4 separate regions of the Homo sapiens genome follow, and regions 1, 3 and 4 are each linked to region 2. The links are contacts of gene promoters, found by promoter capture Hi-C in blood cells and fetal thymus (Javierre and others, 2016). All regions are on one chromosome and are shown on one strand. The core of a region is centred on a gene start or on the middle of the fragment in contact, and the rest is flanking DNA. Distances in the headings are between cores, read along the strand shown. Region 1 overlaps PRPH2 (peripherin 2). Region 2 holds the start of RPL7L1 (ribosomal protein L7 like 1). Region 3 overlaps UBR2 (ubiquitin protein ligase E3 component n-recognin 2). Region 4 overlaps UBR2 (ubiquitin protein ligase E3 component n-recognin 2).

Region 1 (3,105 bases), core at 313-2,812, 170 kb after region 2:
TGGCACCATGTCGGCTCACTGCAACCTCTGTCTCCAGGGTTCAAGCAATTCTCCTGCCTCAGCCTCCCAAGTAGCTGGGATTACAGGTGCCCACCATCATACCTGGCTAATTTTTATATTTTTAGTAGAGACAGGGTTTCACCATGTTGGCCAGGCTGGTCTCGAACTCCTGACCTCAGGTGATCCACCCACCTTGGCCTCCCAAAGTGCTGGGATTACAGGCATGAGCCACTGTGCCAGGCCTGTAGTTCTCAACTGATGCTCTTTTATCTTATTTTATTGCATTTCCGACTTCTATTATAGAAAAAACTCAAGCTTTCACAAAATTAGAGAGTTCATTATAATTAATTCTCATGTAGCCATCACCTAGCCAGGTGTGGTGGCAACACACCTGTAACTCCAGCTACTTGGAGGCTGAGGTGGGAGGATCACTTGAGCACAAGGTCTCTAAAAAAAAAAGGAAAAAACAGGCTGGGCACAGTGGCTCATGCCTGTAATCCCAGCACTTTGGGAAGCTGAGGCGGGTGGATCACCTGAGGTCAGGAGTTCAAGACCAGCCTGGCCAACATGGTGAAACCCCGTCCCTATCACCTAGCCATCACCTAGGAACAAATATCAATATTTTGCCTGTTTCATCTATACTACCCTCCCCCAAACACATTTTCCCCTTCTGAATATCCTAAAGCAAATCCTGGACATACTTTCCTTTTACCTGTAAATACTTTAATAGGCATCTCCAACAGATAAAGAGGCTTTAGTTGTTTTTTGCCCTTTTGTTTCTGCTGAACATAAGCACAAGACCAGTCATAGTCAACAGATTTAATGGCAATATCAATCAATACCCAGTCTATGTTCAGTTTTCCCTGATAGTCTCGGAATGCTTTTTACAGTTGGTCAATTCAGGATCCAAACCAAGTCCATGCTTTGCATTTGGTTGTTTGGTTTCCTGTCTGTTTTACTAGAAAACTGTCCCCTTTTTCATACCATATGTGTGAGAGAAACTGGGCCACGTGTCCTGCAGAATCCCCCATAGTTTGGAGTTGGGCAATTGCAGCCAAATGGTGTTGTCTAACTTGTTCTTCTGTCCCCTGTATTTCCTCATAAACCAGTAGTCTGGGTCGAGGTATGGTTGGATCAGGCTCAGTTGTGGCAAGAACATTTCCTACAGTGCCGCTCTGTGTATCTTACCGTAGCACATGAGGAAGGACATGAGGTCTTCAGTCAGTTTACAACACTTCTTTTAAAGGTTGCAGGATGAGCAGAGCTGCAGTGTCTTGGGGTGAGAGGTAGAACATGCGGGAGCTCAGACATTTTGGAACCAGGAACTACCAGCCAGGAAGGCCCAGCCTGGGGTCCCCAGTCTGAGGGAGAAGCTGGCACCAAGCTCTTGCTCTTCACCATTCTTCCCAGGGAACCCACAGACTACAGGTACCTGCTTGCTCTTCTTAAACAATTCGTAGACATCTCAAGGAGAAGATTAGAACTTGACTCTATGGGGTTTCTCCCCTCTCAGACGGGAACTCTTTGAAGAGAGCTGTGTCTCCCCTTCAAATTGGGGCTTCCTGAGGGCTGGGCTATGTCTCCCCTCAGACCAGGGCTCCCTGAGGATGGGGCTGTGTCCCCCTCAGACCGGGGCTCCCTGAGGATGGGGCTGTGTTTCCCTCAAACTAGGGTCCCCTGAAGACAGGGCTGCATCTCCCCTCAGACTGGGGCTCCCTGAGGACAGGGCTGCATTCCCCCCTCAGACTGGGGCTGCCTGAGGACGGGGCTGTGTCTCCTCCTCATGTCACCCCTCACCGTCTAGTACCTCACACTCAGTGACTTATTTTCTTACTTCACTGTGAGCTGCTATAACAGAATACCTGAGTCTGGATAATTGATAAAGAGTAGAGATTTATTTCTTACTGTTCTGGAGGCTGGGAAGTCCAAGGTGGAGGGGCCCGCATCTGCTGAGGGGCCCGATTTCATCCTTTTCCTCAGGAACCCACTCCCATGATAATGGCATTAATCTACTCATGAGGGCAGAGCGCTTGTAATCCAGTCACCTCTCAAAGGTCCCATCTCTCACCACTGTCATGCTGGGCCTCACGTTTCCAACACAGGAACTTTGGGGGACACATTCAAACCACAGCACTACACAAAAAAGCAATCATCAAAGCATACTAAGCACATAGTGTGTACCAAATGCTCCACGTGTATGATCCCATTTAATTTCCACCATCCCCTGTCGAGTGTTTAAAATGTCATTTCTTAGATGAGAAAACTCAGGCTCAGAGAGGTTAGGCCAGTTCTCAAGGTCTCACAGGTGTCCCTCAGCCAGCGTTCTGCTTGGCATGACCCACTGTCAGGTATACCCCTGCTCATTGCCCTATGGCTGGCTTTACTAATTTGATTCACTTACTAAATTATGTTGGTTTTTCTGGAAAAACTCAGACGTGATCATTTTCCCAGGCTCTTTGTGCCTTGCTTATGGGAGAGTGGCCTAGAACATAGTTCTTATCTTAATCAAGACCCTTTCAAACCCTAGTGACTCCTCCTCCACCGCCCCCGGCCCCTTCCGCGCAGAGTGAAATTCGTAGCCTGGGAAACACGCTGTGATATAAATAGCCGGCTCACCACTAAGGCGCTCTCCTCTGCCTGGCTTTGTCTTAAGAGGGTGAGAGGAGCCTTAATCTGTGGTTGGAATGAGGGCAAGCACTGAGTAAACAAGATGATGTTTGGAGTGGGGGAGGGATAGCTCCAGAAGTGAGAGACCCCAGGAGTTCCCAGGCTGGTGACCCAGGCAGGTCCCAACGTTCACCAAGCTTGGCCTTTTCCCCCAGGCTGACCTGGATGTTGCCCCTGGGAATACACTGGGAAGTTCCCAGTATGAGGGAGACGCAGCCCTGTCTTTAGGAAGCCCCAGTTTGAGGGGAGACAGCCCCATCTTCAGGGGGCCCCAGTCTGAGGGGAGACACAGCCCCGTCCTCAGGGAACCCCAGTCTGATGGGGAGACACAGCCCCGTCTTCAGGGAGCCCCAGTCTGAGGGGGAGACACAGCCCTGACTCAGGGAGCCCCAGTGTGAGGGGAGACAGCCTGGTGGAGACCATTAGGGTGACTTGTCT
Region 2 (3,321 bases), core at 587-3,086:
GCTCTGTCGCCCAGGCTGGAGTACAGTGGCACGAACTTGGCTCACTGCAACCTCCACCTCCCGAGTTCACGCCATTCTCCTGCCTCGGCCTCCCGAGTAGCTGGGACTACAGGAGCCTGCCACCATGCCCGGCTAATTTTTTATATTTTTAGTAGAGACGGGGTTTCACCGTGTTAGCCAGGATGGTCTCGATCTCCTGACCTCGTGATACGCCCGCCTCGGCCTCCCAAAGTGCAGGGATTACAGGCGTGAGCCACCGCGCCCGGCCTACTACAACCATTTTATATAAGGGACTTCAGCAGTCTGAGATTTAGGCATCTGTGGGAGTCCTGGAACCAACCCCTTAAGGACACTGAGAGACAACTATACCTGGTCTGTCAAACCGTTGGGGGGAGCTCGTCAATACCAAATGTAGTCCAACACATGCGGGATAAAACTCACCAAATAAAAATTCTAATTACTTTCTCTTGGTTCCCCACCATTACCTCCTTCTTTGCCAAAAGTGCCTGCTTTGCCTGGGTGGCTTTGAGGGCTTGATAAGCCTTCCTCTTTTTCAGGAGATTTTCTGGAACCAAAGGGATTTTTCTTTGCCTGATGCAGAAAATTGAGATCAGAGATAACATTTAGAAAAGAACACTTGGCCGGGCTCGGTGGCTCAAGCCTGTAATCCCAGCACTCTGGGAGGCCGAGGTGGGTGGATTACCTGAGGTCAGGAGTTCGAGACCAGCCTGACCAACATGGTGAAACCCCCGTTTCTACTAAAAATAAAAAATCAGCTGGGCGTGGTGGCGCACGCCTGTAATCCCAGCTACTCGGGAGACTGAGGCAGGAGAATCGCTTGAACCCGGGAGGCGGAGGTTGCACCGAGCCGAGATCCCGACACTGCGCTCCAGCCTGGGGGACAGAGCAAGACTCCGTCTCAAAACAAAAACAACAACAAAAAAGAAAACGAACATTCAATGGATTTCCAAACCAATTCAATATCCTGGGCTTTAGGGAACATTACTGTTTTCAAGTATCTGAAGAAAGATTCCCCTGAAACCTGCGGTTTCTGACTCCAGGCCTCATAAATCCATCCCTAATAGTCACTCATCCCCAAAGCCTCGGAAAATAATGAATCCTTTAGCCTCTGGGTTCGTATAAGTTAACAGGGTTTTCACGGCCACAGTTCTTCATAGGCACTAGCAGCGACGAATCTATGGGGTTGGGGCGGGGGCAGGCCTATCTGCAGAGTTAACACTTGTCGGGCTGGGTGAATTCAACTGTGGCACTCCAGCCCGCTGCCTGAAGTCAATCCTCGCCTCTCCAGATAACCCGAACTTGACCGCGGTCCCCTCCCTCCTCCGCCACAGCGCTACTCCTCCTCACCCCCACCCTTTGTAAACTGTGGCCTTTTCTATTCCTAGAGCCCACAGGAATCCGCCACCAAGGCATAAACACCGTGGATGGCACCGGATACTCAAGACCCCACTCCAGATATTCAAAGCCCCAAACACTCACTCTTGCTCCGCCATCTTTCTAGTGGTGCAGCTACTGATCATGCGCAACCCCACCACATGGGGAAGACAGCACACGCTCTGTTTACTTGACCATAGAGACGTCTGTTCTAGCTCACGCTGGAGGACCAGTCAGCGTTCACTTAGCCGCAGTGAGCCCTTGAGGTCCCGCTAACCCCGATTCCTGCCAAAAGTTGCACCGCTTCTTAGGGTTTTTAGAGCCTGTGTTATTTTCAAAACCCAGCCCTTTTCTTGTAAGTTACAGTTTCATCACAAGCGGCCTGGCTGTGGACAGCAAAGTGCTTCCCACAATGCACCTATGGCGTCCGCTCCTAGCTACGGCGCCGCACTTCCGGCGCGGCTGTGCTGCGTCTCTGGGGAGGAAGACAGGCAAACTCCGCGAAACATTTTCGCTCTGTGGAAAAACTTGGAGGCTATGGCTTTGGCTCTCACGTGTAGGTGGAAGTGTTTGTTGAGGACTTAGAGTGGTAAAGCAGGTAGCTGCAATTCCGTCTGCTTGGCCCCGTCGATGCGTCCTTGAACACGTTATTTAACCCCTCTATACTGCGGCTTCATTACCCATAAAATGGGTGTACAGTAATAATAGGTCTACCTAATGGCGTTACGAGGATTACAGGAGATTAGATAAAGCGTTTAGCAGTGTCTGTCAGCACTATGTTTGTTACTATTACTGCTGGACCGAAAACTACAACATGCTTCCTTCCCGTCTAAAACCGTTACACAGGCCGGGCGCGGTGGCTCACGCCTGTAATCCCAGCACTTTGGGAGGGAGGCCGAGACGGGAGGATCACCTGAGGTCAGGAGTTCGAGATCAGCCTGGCCAACACGGCGAAACCCCGTCTTGGGCGGAGGTTACAGTGAGCCGAGATCGCGCCACTGCCCACCAGCCTGGGCGACAGAGCAAGACTCCGTCTCAAAAAAACAAAAAGAAAAGAAAAGAAAAAAAAAGAATAAAAATAAAACCCTTATGCAGCTCTCATCGCCCGGAATTTGCGTTCTTCCCTCCCAGTCTATATAGAATCCTGAAAAACAGTAGGTCGGGCCGGTGGCTTTCACCTGTAATCCCAGCACTTTGGGAGGCCAAGGCAGGTGGATCACTTGAGGTCAGGAGTTGGAGACCAGCATGGCTAAGATGGTGAAACCCCGTCTCTACTAAAAATACAAAAAATTAGCTGGGCGTGGTGGCTCGCGCCTGAAGTCCCAGAAGGCGGAGGCTGCGTGAGCCGAGTTTGTGCCACTTGCACTCCAGCCTGGGCGACAGAGCGAGACAGTCTCAAAAAAAACAAGAAATAAATTTTTTTTAAAATTAAAAATCCTGAAAAACAACACAAGTCTTATCATCTCTGGAAACCTCCAGAGCAGCGCTTCTCAAGCATTAATAGTGAATAGGAGTCACCTGAAGATTTTACTAAAATACAGATTTTTATTCAGGAGGCCGGGTGGGGAGCTGATATTCTGCTTTTTTTTTTTTTTTTTTTTTGAGATGGCGTCTCGCTCTGTCGCCCAGGCTGGAGTGCAGTGGCGCGATCTTGGCTCACTGCAAGCTCCGCCTCCCGGGTTCACGCCATTCTCCTGCCTCAGCCTCCCGAGTAGCTGGGACTACAGGCGCCCGCCACCACGCCTGGCTAATTTTTTGAATTTTTAGTAGAGATTTCACCTTGTTAGCCAGGATGGTCTCGATCTCCTGACCTCGTGATCCGCCCGCCTCGGCCTCCCAAAGTGCTGGGATTACAGGCGTGAGCCACCGCACCTGGCCAATATTCTGCATTTTTAACAGGCTTCAGAGTGACGCTGGTGCTACTGG
Region 3 (3,026 bases), core at 261-2,760, 240 kb after region 2:
CGCATGCCTCACTTTCTTGCCTTCTGTCCAATACTTTTCCACAACACCATGCCATCAATTGCCTGTGTTGAGGATTGACAGTTCAGTTGCTCAAAACACTTATAAAAACAAAACTGGGCCTGAACAAGTTATAGAAATAAGAGAGATTTCTTCTTACGATCATGATTTCATTCTAGGTAATGGTCTATTGTACCATTTGATATTCATATGTCTAGGAATAACAACTTTATAAGCCTCAGAGTAAGTAATTATCTTAAATTACCATGACTTCAATAATATACCCATGGCAAGGGTCTATCAGTGGGATAATGTGATAGGTCTCAGAACAATGAAAAAAAATGCCTTCAGAATGAAAGAGGAATCATTACTACTGACCCCATGTACATTAAAAGGATAATGAAGGAATATTAACAACTCTAGGCCCACAAATCTGATAACTTAGATGAAATGGATCAATTCCCTGAAAGACACAGACTACCAAAACTCACACAAGGAGAAAAAGATAACCTAAACAGGCCCGTATCTATTAAAGAAATTGAGTCAATTATTAATAACCTTCCAAAACCTAAAGCATCAGATGAGATGACTTCACTGGTGAATTCTGTCAAACATTTAAGGAAGAAATGAAACAAACTCTCTACAATCTCCTCCAGAAAAAAACAAAACAAAACAAAAAACATACCCTCACATCACATTAAGCTACTGAGCCACAAACTTAACATAAACTACATATTTTACAATGAGTAAAAATACCTTCAAAATTTCTTTCTGTTCTCTGAGTTAAAACGGAACTAAAGAAAACAACAGTGTGCGAGCAAGAAAAGAATACCTAGAATCAAGAAATATGAAAGCTGTACTGAAATGAGTCTGCAGAGATGGATAAGTGCATATTCAAAGTCTTTGGCCACATAAGATGGCAGCTTCAGACATTCTACCAATTAATTACAAGTGGCTTGTAAATCAACTACTTGAAATTAAAAGATTATCACCCCATTATGTCCTTGTTCTTGACCTGTTGCGTAAAAAGCTATCAATAAATATATGAAACAGCTCAGAGGGAGAGGAAAAAAAGGAGAATAGAAAACCTAGGGTGGCTTCAAATGATTAGCAATTGCTTAAGTGACAGATTAATTTGAATGGTAACAACATAGACTTTGAAGCTGGATTCGATGAAATGATAAAACGTGGTATCTGTAGTTGTCTAAAGAAGCACTATGGTATAACGGCTATAAACATGGCCTCTGGTGCCAAACTTCCTCATAATGCCAACTGATTCTTTCTTGTTGTGTGACTTACTAAGCAAGTCACTCTCTATGCCTCTGTCTTCCCATCTATGAAGCAAGCTTAATAATAATACCTACTTCACAGGACGATGTGATGATTGGATAAGTTAATGATGTAGAAATCACAGAATAACATCTGGCACAAAGTAAGTATTCACAGATATTAACCACAAACAACAATTTAAAAGATAATTTTAGGGTTTTATTTTAGGGGAAATGCTTTACCTGCAAGTAAGCGAGAAACTGGGAGGTGAATGCTAACTTTTTCTTGGGAAACACAGTATCTGATAGTTTCCACTGAATGTCCACAAATGCTTAGTGTGATTGGCTGTTCACCATCAGTATAACCACCATGACACTGCATCAGTACAGCGAGACATTTCTTGTAAGCTTCGATTAACACTTTTTCCTAAAAAAGAGGGTTTTTCTGTAAGTTACTCAAAAGGTTGAGTTTTTACAACATTGAATAAGCACCTTAAATTCAGTGAGTAAGTACCTCAAATAACAATATAGGCAAAACCAAACTCAATCCTCCCTCCCAAATTTGGTCCCTCTTCCAGTGTCCCTCATCTCAGTGAATGATACATTTACTCATATAGTGCAGAAATCTAGAAGTTATTCCAATACCCTCCTTTCCCCCATTCCCCATTGTCCAATCTATTACCAAGCTGGCAACTTCATCTTCTAAGTTTCTCTCAAAACTTGCTACTTTTCTCTATCTCTAGTAACTCCAAGGCATTGCCAAGCGTCTCTCTATTAAATTCCTGCTTTGACTCTTGCCCCCTTCATCCATTCTCCATACAGAGCAATTTTAAAAAACATGTAAATTGAATCATGTCACTGTATGGAAAATGGATAAAGGGGGCAAGAGTTGAAGCAGGGAATTTAATAGAGAGATGGTAATCTCTAAAGGCTTCCCACTTCAATTCAAATAAAATGCAGGCTGAGTGTGGTGGCTCACGCTGGTAATTCCAAGACTTTGGGAGGCCGAGGCAAGCAGATCGCTTGAGCCCAGGAATTCAAGACCAGCCTGGGTAACACGGCGAAGCCCTGTCTCTACAAAAAATAGAAAAATTAGCCAGGTGTGGTGGTGTGTGCCTGTTGTCCCAGCTACTTGGGAGGCTGAGGTGGGAGGATCACCTAAGCCCAGGGAGGTTGAGGCTGCAGTGAGCCGGGATTGCACCACTGCACTCTGGCCTGGGCAACAGAGTAAGCTGTGTCTCAAAAAAAAAAAAAACAAAAAAAAAAACAACCATGGCCAAGGCCCCGAAAAATCACTCCTGTGCCCAAATCTCTGTTCTCTACTTCTGTGCTCCAACCACAGACCTTTCTATAGCTCCTAGGACTACCCTAGTCCCTGTCATCACAGACTATAATGCAGCTGTCTTCTCAGTCAGGAATATCATTTACTCATTGTTCCATTAACTTTTACAGATTGTTCAGACCTTACAGAAACCTCCCTAACCTCATAATGTATACAGGCTCTCATCTAGACTTTATCGCCAAAGGAAGGCCAAAATAATTTTAAGACACAGGACAAATGTACCAATAATAAAACTTTATTTTTGAATAAATTTAGAAACTACCATTTTTATATCCTCAAAGTCTAGAAGGGATTATGGAAAAAAAACAAAGATAGTTACATTAGGGAAGAGACAATCTGGATTATTTCTTTCTCTATTTTTCAAGTTTTTCCTCAGGCTGTAGAATTTTAAAATTTTACTGAGTTTATAGGTGGAGAAG
Region 4 (2,943 bases), core at 169-2,668, 220 kb after region 2:
AAGTACAAGATGAGCTTGGGCATCTTTTGGGCTGGAAAGCGAGGTGGTACTCAAATACAAATGGGGCTGGGTGAAAAGGACACAGAAGCTGACTAAATAAACTCCCACTGACCAAAATGGGCATAATTTGAGCATCAAAAGGAATACCCATTATAAGTGACTATAAAACACTGAATAAAAATCCATGAATAATATTTAAAAAAACTCTAAACAAAAAACATTCAAAATTGCCACAATTGCAGGTAACTATCAGACCAATGGCTGGTTCTGAAAATTAGTAAATGAGAAGCTTTTCTTTGAGACATGAAATATTATGTCTACAACAAATGGTTCAAGAAAGTATGTAAATATAAAAGCAAATATAGCAAACTACTGAATCTAGGGAGCAGGTATATGAATGTTTACTGGACAATTCTTTCAACTTGTCTATATGTATGAAATTTTTAAAATAAAAAGCTAGAAAAACTCCCTGGCCTTCTTTTAAAAAGTCACATTTCTTTATATGAAATGACAATCTAATCCCCTATAATTTTTTTTTATTTTCAATACTGTAGAATCTTACGTCAACCACAGCTGACTGTAACTTTGAACTTAGCCCTAGATATTTTTATAAAAATGTATCAGGGTTTAATACAGTACCTTTACTACACAGATGAGTACATATAGCCTCAAATGTTTGGATTAAATATTACCCTTTTAGAATCTATATGATCAAATAAAAGAGGTTATTAAGTGATTTCTTAAAATCATTTATATCTTGAGTTAGTTTAGTAAAAAGATATATACATACTTGATATCTTCTGAGTGAAGGTAAATGTTACTACATGCTCTTCCGTGACATTCTCTAAATGTTGTTTTTCTTCTTGTAGTGCCATGCCAATTAAATGTAACACCTTGAATAAATGTTTTGTAACTTTTAGTAAAAATTTAAAAAATCAAGTACATATTTTAATAAGAAATAGGAAAAAAGAATTATTGAAAAAGATAAATCAAACTATGAAATACTAAATGCAATTAAAAACAATTTGAAGTACTAATTTTTTTTTCTTTTTTTTTTTTTTGAGATGGAGTTTTGCCCTGTCACCCAGGCTCACTGCAACCTCTGCCTCCCAGGTTCAAGTGATTCTCCTGCCTCAGCCTCCCGAGTAGCTGGGACTACAGGCGCGTGCCACCACACCCGGCTAATTTTTGTACTTTTAGTAGAGATGGGGTTTCACCATGTTGGCCAGGCTGGTCTTGAACTCCTGACCTCAAGTGATCCGCCCACCTTGGCCTCCCAAAGTGCTGGGATTAAAGGCGTGAGCCACCATGCCCGGCCTTGAAGTACTAATTTTTATTAAATGAAAAGACTGAGGTTTATTTTCTAACAAACAATTATTGTCAAGAAAAACAAAATTTTCTACTTCAATGAGGAAGAAATTTCAATTGCAAATCCTCAGGGTAAGCTAAAATTACACCAGCTGTGACCAGCAATTCACATAATATGTAAGTTTTATTCTATACCTATACTACAGACTTAAAAAAACCTTCCAAGAATTAGTGGTCAAGTAATTATAAAGCTAAACGTATCCCCCATGTAATTATCCAGTCTATGACACTACCTAATTTCTCTAAGGACTAAATCTTCATCATCTGAGAAAGACAAACTTTTATCTCTAATGCCTTATCATTTATAAACTTTATAGTTCTTCAGTGTATCTCACAAAATATTCCTGACCAGACTTCTAGAGACTGTATCAACCTATTTGTTTTTTTACTGCTCTTATCCCATGCCCAAGTTTTTTTGTTTTTTGAGACGGAGTCTCCCTCTGTTGCCCAGGCTAGAGTGCAGTGGCACAATATTGGCTCACTGCAACCTCTGCCTCCCAGTTTCCAGTGATTCTCCTGAGCCCTCCTGAGTAGCTGGGATTATAAGCATGTGCCATGACGATTGGCTAATTTTTTTATTTTTAGTAGAGATGGGGTTTTACCATGTTGTACAGGCTGGTCTTGAACTCCCGACCCCAAGTGATCTACCCGCCTTGGCCTCCCAAAGTGTTAGGATTACAGGGGTGAGCCACTGTGCCGGGCCCACACCCCAGATTTTGAAGGAGATATGTGTGTGATGTCTCTGTATCTTTCCCTTCACATGGGATGACTGTGGTTGTCAGAGACTTGGAAGAACTAGGTGACATAAAGCAAGTGTACATGTAAGGTAAATATTGTTCACACCTCTTCTCTCCATTATTTCCCACAAATCTTTTGTTCATGTAATGCTGACAGTACACGACAGCTAGTACAGCTGTACTAGTAGTGAGCTAGTACACCACAGCTCCATGCTTTTACACTTTAAATATGCTTATAGATAAATAGGAGGGCATTATAAGAATACACACATCTTAGCCAGTGAGACAAAAAGAAAGAATGATAGCTACTCAGCCTCCCGAGGAGGGCTCCAAAATTTGAATCTGAATCCTGGTTTTACTGCTTTCAAGCTATTAATATATACCCTAAGGGAACGCCTCTGAGCCCAAGTCATCATCTTTAGCCTTGGAAAAACAAAGCTTCCCTCTAGAGTTCTGAGGATTACAAATACTGTATGCAGAGTGCTTAGCATGGCCAGGCACGGTGGCTCACGCCTTGTAATCCTAGCACTTTGGGAGGCCAAGGTGAGTGGATCACCTGACGCTGGGAGTTCGAGACTAGCCTGGCCAACGTGGTGAAACCCTGTCTCTACTAAAAATACAAAAAATTAGCTGGGCTTCGTGACAGGCACCTGTACTCCCAACTACTTGGGAGGCTGAGGCAGGAGAATTGCTTGAACCCGGGAGGCAGAAGTTGCAGTGAGCCAAGATCACACCATTGTACTCCAGCCTGGGTGACAAGAGCAAAACTGTCTCAAAAAAAAAAAAAAAAAAAAAAAAAAAAGGGCTTAGCATGGAATAAGGCATAAAGTAGGCATTC

What was found. The method cuts DNA at HindIII sites, captures the fragments that hold promoters and counts their contacts. A CHiCAGO score of 5 or more calls a contact.
Region 1: a fragment that was not itself captured here is called in contact with the fragment with the promoter of RPL7L1 in region 2 in 4 of 17 cell types (naive CD4 T cells, total CD8 T cells, naive CD8 T cells and 1 more); the score reaches 6.2 in naive CD4 T cells.
Region 3: a fragment that was not itself captured here is called in contact with the fragment with the promoter of RPL7L1 in region 2 in 11 of 17 cell types (M2 macrophages, M1 macrophages, total CD8 T cells and 8 more); the score reaches 10.1 in M2 macrophages.
Region 4: a fragment that was not itself captured here is called in contact with the fragment with the promoter of RPL7L1 in region 2 in 16 of 17 cell types (naive CD4 T cells, megakaryocytes, total CD8 T cells and 13 more); the score reaches 30.2 in naive CD4 T cells.

The regions. Positions count from the first base shown.
Region 1 is chr6:42,710,081-42,713,185 of GRCh38, reverse strand. All of the region lies in intron 1 of PRPH2 (peripherin 2), which reads left to right. Among named protein-coding and RNA genes, the nearest start is that of PRPH2, 11 kb to the left of the region's middle. RefSeq lists an enhancer at 2,406-2,991. The HindIII fragment of the contact is 2,489 bases long and covers 318-2,806 here.
Region 2 is chr6:42,878,131-42,881,451 of GRCh38, reverse strand. RPL7L1 (ribosomal protein L7 like 1) reads right to left here and starts at 1,836. Exons shown (of 6, transcript NM_001366481.3): 1 at 1,501-1,836; 2 at 486-591. The coding sequence starts at 1,541. RefSeq lists enhancers at 1,575-1,634, 910-1,866, 1,655-2,124, 1,867-2,824. The HindIII fragment of the contact is 10,267 bases long and covers 1-3,321 here.
Region 3 is chr6:42,635,677-42,638,702 of GRCh38, reverse strand. It overlaps UBR2 (ubiquitin protein ligase E3 component n-recognin 2), which reads right to left. Exons shown (of 47, transcript NM_001363705.2): 15 at 1,509-1,692. Among named protein-coding and RNA genes, the nearest start is that of UBR2, 73 kb to the right of the region's middle. The HindIII fragment of the contact is 330 bases long and covers 1,346-1,675 here.
Region 4 is chr6:42,653,571-42,656,513 of GRCh38, reverse strand. It overlaps UBR2 (ubiquitin protein ligase E3 component n-recognin 2), which reads right to left. Exons shown (of 47, transcript NM_001363705.2): 26 at 791-893. Among named protein-coding and RNA genes, the nearest start is that of PRPH2, 68 kb to the left of the region's middle. The HindIII fragment of the contact is 2,254 bases long and covers 292-2,545 here.